Linked DNA regions of Homo sapiens: region 1 is linked to region 2. Evidence: promoter capture Hi-C in human tissues and cell types (Jung and others, 2019). All regions are on one chromosome and are shown on one strand. Each heading gives the region's core, a stretch centred on a gene start or on the middle of the fragment in contact. The rest is flanking DNA. Distances are from core to core; before and after follow the strand shown.

Region 1 (3,734 bases), core at 1,235-3,734, 260 kb after region 2:
TAAATATGGACTGCTTTGTTTTCTTCCTTGTGGAACTCTGGTGTTCATGCTACTTTGTTCACCGGTGGGGCTGGCTGTTGCTAGCAAAGAGGCTCTTCACAGAAGTGGCTGAACCCAAAGTTCTGGTTGGGAAAGGCCTTTGTGGCAGCTCCTATCAAGCGCAAGTGCGAGGCCACCCCCTCCTCGTGGGCTCTGGGGTCGATTTTGTTAGGGTTTGACATGAGTGGCTGCATTTGGGTACTCACAGATTTCACAAAGGAAGGGTAAACTGGAGATTTTTGGCCGGGCACGGTGGCTCATGACTATAATTTCAGCACTGTGGGAGGCTGGTGGGCAGATACTTTAGGTCAGGAGTTCAAGACCAGCCTGGCCAACATGGCAAAATCCTGTCGCTACTAAAAATACAAAAGTTAGCCAGGTGTGGTGGCGCACGCCTATAATCCCAGCTACTCGGGAGGCTGAGGCAGGAGAATCACTTGTACCCAGGAGGCGGAGGCTGCAGTTACCCAAAATTGTGCCACTGCACTCCAGCCTGGGTGACACAGCGAGACTTTTTCTCAAAACAGAAAAAAACGTGCTGTGGCTCACGCCTGTAATCCCAACCCTTTGGGAGGCCAAGGCAGGCAGATCACAAGGTCATGAGATCAAGACCATCCTGGCTAATACAGTGAAACCCCATCTCAACTAAAAACACAAAAAAATTAGCCGGGCGTAGTGGTGGACGCCTGTAGTCCCAGCTACTCGGGAGGCTGAGGCTCGCAGGATAATGGCGTTGAACCCGGGAGGTGGGGCTTGCAGTGAGCCGAGATTGCGCCACTGCACTCCAGCCTGGGCGACAGAGCAAGACTCCGTCTCAAAAAAAAATAAAAATAAAAAAATAGGGAGATTTCCCCAGTTACCAAGAACTCAGGAAGCAACATTAAGAGCTTGGGGGAGGCCAGGCGCGGTGGCTCACGCCTGTAATCCCAGCACTTTGGGAGGCAGAGGCAGGCTGATCACGAGGTCAGGAGATTGAGACCATCCTGGCTAACACGGTAAAACCCCGTCTCTACCCAAAATAAAAAAAAAATTAGCCGGGCATGGTGGCAGGCGCCTGTAGTCACAGGTACTCAGGAGCCTAATGCGGGCGAATGGAGTGGAGGCGGGAGAATGGCGTGAACCCGGGTGGCGGAGCTTCCAGTGACCCGAGATCGCGCCACTGCACTCCAGCCTGGGCAACAGAGCGAGACTCCGTCTCAAAAAAATAAAAATAAAAAAAGAGCTTGGGTACACAAAGCAAGCAGCATTTCATTCCGGGATGAAAAAAATTCCGATACCCATCGCCCTTCTTGGGCCCTTGTCAGTTTCTTGCCACATCTTTCATTTTCCCATTTCAGGCCCAGTAAATGCGGATGTTTATCTTCCATTGTTTGTTTCCTGAGATTCAGATGTCTAAAGCATTTTTCTGTGACTTTTCAAGTCAAGAGGAAAACCTGACATATGGAAAGGGAATTAATTGCTCGTTTTATCCTCTTCTCCTGCAATGCTCTGAATCCATGGGTTTGGAGTGGGGCCCTGGGAGTTGGGGGAAGCACCATACCCAGTGAGTCTGCACTTTGAGGACCCACTGCCAGTGTCAGCTTCAAAATCACATTGTAAAAGGCCGGGCGCGGTGGCTCACGCCTGTAATCCCAGCACTTTAGGAGGACGAAGCGGGCGGATCACTTGAGGTCAGGAGTTCGAGACCAGCCTGGCCAATATGGCGAAACCTCGTCTCTACCAAAAATATAAAAATTAGCCGGGCGTGGTGGCGCGGGCCTGTGGTTCCAGCTACTCGGGAGGCTGAGGCAGGAAAATTCCTTGAACCCGGGAGGAGGCTGCAGTGAGCCAAGACCACGCCACTGCACTCCAACCTGGGCGGCAGAGCAAGGCTCCGACTCAAAAGTAAATACATGAATAAATAAAATAAAATCACATCGTAAGAGCTCTCCCTGCCCTGTTTCTGAGTAAGGTTCAGAGTTAAATTCCGAGATCGGCCTTTACAAGACACACAGACCTGAGGCGCCTCACGAGGTAACCAGCAGGTAAATGGAGCGCGCTCCACCCACCCGCCACTAGGGGTCCCAGCGGTCAAGGGGGTGGAATGCGGGCGTCCATCGCGAAGGCATTCTGCTCGCAAGCCTTGGCACAGGCGCGGGCTTCGCTACCGGAAAAGTCCCGGTAGGATTCCGGAAGCCGGCCACGCGTTCCGCGCAGGCGCAAACTGCTCCAAAAGTGGGCGTCGCTCCTCCGGAGTCCCGATTCCTGCGTCACAGCCCGCGCCGAAGTCGGAAGTGCGCTCACCGGGCTGTTTCTTCTGGCGTCCTGGACCTGAGCAAGCGCTGTTTTATGCGTTATCATCCCGCGCAGACACAGGAAGTGCCGCACAGAGCGAGCCCCTGTCGTTGTCTCGAGTTCTGGGCCGGAGGTCGGCTATTATATCATCATTACGCGCCAATACAGGAAGTGACGATACTTTTGGCGCGCGCCGGTTGCTGTTTCTTCTCTGGCTCCGGGACCGGCGGCGGCGGCGGCGGCAGCGGCGGCGGCGTAGGGGTGAGTTCCGACTGGGCGGACCAGGTGTGGGAGCGCGAGGAGAACTGCGCACCGAGGTCTTTCTTCCGAGCAGGCCTCGGAGCGGGGCGGACCCGGGCCCGGGGGCGAGCGACACCCTCGCTTCCGCGGACAGTCTCATCCCGCACGGAACTTTGGGTGGTGGAGGCGGCGGGTCCAAACGCTGTCTGGAGCCAACGTCTGCCAGGCTGAACCTCAAGTGTGCGGGACTGAACCCGAGGAAATAGCCCAGTGCCCGGGTCAGGTGGCCTTGTTCGCGAGCACATCTCGGAGCATCTCCCCGGTCTCAAGGTGCAGCTGTCCAGTGTGCTAGTGGCTTCACGTAGTCCAAGCGGTCTTTCTAGCAGATTCTGACAGTAAAAGCAGTGTTTGATGAGTGGCAGGTCCTGAGTTAAGAGCCTTTAAACGGATGATCTTTAATCCGCGATCGATACTATCACGTAGGTGTTGTTATTCTGGTTGTACGGAAGACTAAACTGAGGTGAATTACGTTACCCAAGACCATACAAGAATGACAGAAACGAGACTTGATTTCAAGCGGTCATTTTTCAGAACCCATCACTCTTTTTTGTCGCCCATGCTGCAGCGCAGTGGCTGTTCACAAGCGCACTTCAGCCTGGAACTCCTGGGCTCAATCGGTCTCCCATCTCAGCTTGCAGAGTATATGGGACTACAGGCGCTCGCCACCTTGCCTGGCTTACAACTTATCATTCTTGTTTTTTTTTCTTTTTTTTTTGAGACGGGGTCTTGCTGGAGTGCAGTGACGCGACCTCGGCTCACCGGAACCTCCGCCTTTCGGATTCAAGCGATTCTGCTGCCTCGGCCTCCCGAGTAGCTGGGATTACAGGCACCCGCCACCACGCCCAGCTAAGTTTTGTATTTTTAGTGGAGACAGGGTTTTCGCCGTGTTGGCCAGGCTGGTCTTGACCTCCTGACCTTGTGATCCACCCGCCTCAGCCTAGAGCTTACTTTTTTTTTTTTTTTTTTTTTTTTAACCAAGTCTTACTTTGTTATCTAGGCTGGAGTGCAGTGGCGCAGTCTTGGCTCATTGCAGCCTTGACCTCTCTGATTCAAGTGATCCTCCTGCCTCTAGCAGCCTCCTTCCTGTAGCTAGGAATACAGGCACGCGCCACCACACTGGG
Region 2 (3,722 bases), core at 351-2,850:
TGTCAAAGACACGGAATGCCGCCCTCAGCTCGCTCTCCTGGTTCTGGGCCTTCTCATGGTAAACTCCCATTAGTGCCAGGAAACCATCGCAGTTGAAGAACCCTTTGTCTGCAAGGGGCACAGCTGGGGCTCAAGGGATGGGGCACAGCACTCCCCATGGGCTTTGCCTCTTCCCCCCGTAGGCACTGACACCTGACCCAGGGCCCCCCCGAGGCTGCCCACCCCACTCCAGCCATGAGCTCACTGTCTCTGTCCACATCCTTGGCCATTGAGGCCAGCTCACTCTTGGTGGGGTTGATACCCAGCAGGCTCATGAGCCACTCCAGCTCCCCCGTCTTCACCTCCCCGTTGCCCTCTTCGTCGAACATCTCAAAGACTCCCTTGTACTCCTTGATCTGCTCAGCCGACAGGCGCTCTGTCTGCAGGGGACACCCGCACCGGCCTGACCAGGAGCCCCTTCTGCCCCTGTGTCCAGGGAAGGGTCAGAGGTACCCCCTGCACCCATTCCTCCATTGGCAGCCTTTCAAGGTGAGTGGTAAGAGAGGAGGCCCCCAGCGGAGAGCAGGCTTCCAGGACAAGGGGTCACACGCCAGGGGTTTGCAGGGCCAGCAGGGCTCTGCCAGGCAGCTAACAGGGGCAAGGGCCAGACAGGCAGGAGCCAGCGTGCGAGGGAACAGCAGCAGCTGCAGGGCCAGGCGGGCCAGGCAGCGGCCCTGGAGCCTGGCAATGGACACCAGGTGAGGCAGGTGAAGGAAGCCGAGAGCAGGGTGGGGAGGAGCCCAGCCCTGGCCCGGGAAAGGCTTCCAGCCCAGGATTGGGATACAGCCCAGGAAGCAGAACCCTGGGCTCCAGCCTGTGTGGCATTCCGGAGGGAGAGTCCAGCACCGGGCCACACCTGCCTGCCACCACTGCTGCTGCCCATCTGGGAGCCAGCTTTCAGAAAGGGCTGCTCCACCCTGGCCCCGGAACAAGGGCTGTGTTGGTGGCAGCAGGGCTTGGCCCCCTCTTCTACCTCAGCCCCTTCCTGCCCAGGCTCCGTGGCAGGTCATTGCACCTCCAGGTTCCAGCTCAACCTACCCAGCCAGCCCACCAGAGACTCCATCGGGCACAGAGAGCAGCCTTACCATGTCGGTGGTTGTCTGACAGGATTCTGCAGGGTGGTGACACCAGGGCTGCTGTGGGCAGAGTGCTGGGGCAGTGGTGGCAGCTGAGTTTTAGCTGGGCCTGGCTGCCTGGGGTCCCCGGGGTCCAGATTCCAAGAGCCTTTTATGGGTGGGAAATCCTGCCGGCCCTATTTTGGGACAGGCTCTCGGCCTTATCCACAGGGCCCCTTCCCGGCCCGCTTTGGCCTGGGCTTCCCCTGACCCTGAAGATGGGCACCGAAGGCTAAGTGCGGGGGCCAGGAAAGGGCTGAGACATGGCGGGACCCTCACACACGCTGTTCCCCGTGCTGTTCCCTCTTCACTGGACCAAGCTCCAAGTCTACCTTCCCAGAGGTGCGGCCCTCCAGCAGGTCTTCATGGGACCCTGGTCCCATGCTGTCATCACTTACCAGTGAGATTTCTTGTTGAAGACCCATCCTGGCCAGCTGGTGCTCAGTGGCTCAGAGCCTGGCCACCCTCCCATCCTGGTGGACTCAACATTGGCCCCGTGCCAGCATGTCACAAACTCTCAGGACAGGTCGAATGAACAAATGCATGAGGCACCGCTTGACCATCTTGTACAGGAGGGGCTGAGGGTCCACCATTCAGGGAGGAGACAGCAGGACATGGGCTGGGGGTGAAGGGGGAAAGGGAGCAAAACAGGGCCTGGGGGCTGGGCTGCCCGCTGGAAGCCAGGCACAGTTGGGGGCTATTTTGGGGTTTCTCAGGGAAACCTGATCTCCCTTCCACTCAGAACAGCAAAGCTGGCTCCCGAGGGGGCCTGGTGCCCAGGCTGGTCCGTATCAACATGCCACCGTGGAGCACACGCCTGCACACGTGTGTTCCCTCCTCAGACCCGCACTGAGCCCTCCCTGTCTGGGTCTAATTACCCACCAGACTCCCAAAGCCAGGGTCCAGCTCCTCCCTGCCCCACCCAGGCAAGAGTGTGAGGATTGCAGTGGCAGGTCAGGGCCCTCAGGGTCACACTCACACCTGCCCCCCGACTGGCCCCTTGATGGCATGAAGAGTCTGAGCAGGTGGGGCACTCAGTGTCCCCCGCCAGCCCAACCCTCTGCCTGCCAGCAAACCTGCAGCTACAGGATGGCTCCCGCTGAAACCCAGGCCAGCTGCTGAGACTGCAAGATTGACGCTGACGAGGGCAGGCCAATGGCCCAGGGCACCTCCAGCCAAACGGGAGCCGGGGCTGGAGGGAAGCGGCCCTGGGTCTGGTGGGGCCAAGGGAGGCCCTGACCTTCATCCTGGCTGCTCCCTGGCCTCAGCTTTCCCCTGGGCTGGGGCAGGGAACAATTCACGCACTGAGCACCTTCCCCCAGGGGCATAGAATGGAGGGAGCCGCAGCACCCAGGCCAGGGCCCATCCTGGGTTCTGGCTCAGGGTCTCCAGGTACAGGCCAGCTGGGTACAGAGACACAGAGAACTGCACTGGCCTCGTGGCCCTGGACAAGTCCCCACCCCAACAACTCTCACAGCCAGTGGACAGCAGGCTCTGCCTCCTCCGTTCCCAGGCTTCCAGCGTCTGACATTCCTGGGCCACAGCCCTGAAGGTTCCAGACATCCTGATGGGCTTACGAGTGAAACTCAAAGCTGTGACCCCTGGAGCCCAACTTAAAGCAGAGGGCACACCCCCCGCCCCGCCCGTAGGAAGGGGCAACATGGCCACAACCACCATCAACCTCTCTCCTCTCCATCTAGGCTTCTACCCATATCCAAGACCCAGTACAAGCAGCAGAACAGGTCCTCGCCCTCTAACCCTCTCTCCTCATGCTGACCAGCCTCTGTGTGGCCTTCGGACATACCCCGTATCTCTAGGACCTGAGACTCATCCAATCTTTATTTTCCTTCTTGTGTCTCTTCTGATCACCGAAGGGCTATTCTCCATAAGAAAACAGAAAAAGAGGCTGGGCACGGTGGCTCACGCCTGTAATCCCAGCACTTTGGGAGGCTGAGGCGGGCAGATCACGAGGTCAGGAGATCGAGACCATCCTGGCTAACACAGTGAAACCCCGACTGTACTAAAAAAAATACAAAAAAATTAGCCAGGCGTGGTGGTAGACACCTGTAGTCCCAGCTTCTCCGGAGGCTGAGGCAGGAGAATGGCGTGAACCCAGGAGGCAGACCTTGCAGTGAGGCGAGATCGCGCCACTGCACTCCAGCCTGGGCAACAGAGCGAGACTCCATCTCAAAAAAAAAAAAGAAAAGAAAAGAAAACAGAAAAAGAGAAAAACCCTGTAACAATTAGAATGCTGCCTCAGCCACGTTCAGGTGCAAGTGCAGTTGTGTTCATGGCCGTACCCAGTTATGCAGCAGATCTCTAGAACCTTTCACCTTGCAAAACGGACCCCCGCCCCCATTAAACAGCATCTGCCCTCTTCCACCACCCCCCGCCCCCCAGCCTATGGCAATCACTATTCTACTTTCTGTTTTTAAGAATTCGACTCCGGGGGCCGGGTGTGGTGGCTCACGCCTGTAATCCCAGCACTTTGGGAGGCCGAGGTGGGTGGATCACAAGGTCAGGAGTTCAAGACCAGCCTGGCCAAGATGGTTACACCCTGTTTCTACT

The links. Contacts are between HindIII fragments. The study calls those that stand out against the background at their distance.
Region 1: a contact is called between the fragment with the promoter of CDK11B here and the fragment with the promoter of CALML6 in region 2, in 2 of the 25 tissues and cell types used here (liver and spleen).

The regions. Positions count from the first base shown.
Region 1 is chr1:1,657,754-1,661,487 of GRCh38, reverse strand. CDK11B (cyclin dependent kinase 11B) reads left to right here and starts at 2,484. Exons shown (of 20, transcript NM_033486.3): 1 at 2,484-2,574. It overlaps SLC35E2B (solute carrier family 35 member E2B), which reads left to right. Exons shown (of 10, transcript NM_001290264.2): 10 at 1-10. RefSeq lists enhancers at 2,098-2,377, 2,398-2,487, 1,919-2,641. The HindIII fragment of the contact is 36,520 bases long and covers 1-3,734 here.
Region 2 is chr1:1,913,138-1,916,859 of GRCh38, reverse strand. CALML6 (calmodulin like 6) reads right to left here and starts at 1,600. Exons shown (of 6, transcript NM_138705.4): 1 at 1,553-1,600; 2 at 1,125-1,175; 3 at 245-419; 4 at 1-108. The coding sequence starts at 1,579. RefSeq lists an enhancer at 2,093-2,779. The HindIII fragment of the contact is 17,409 bases long and covers 1-3,722 here.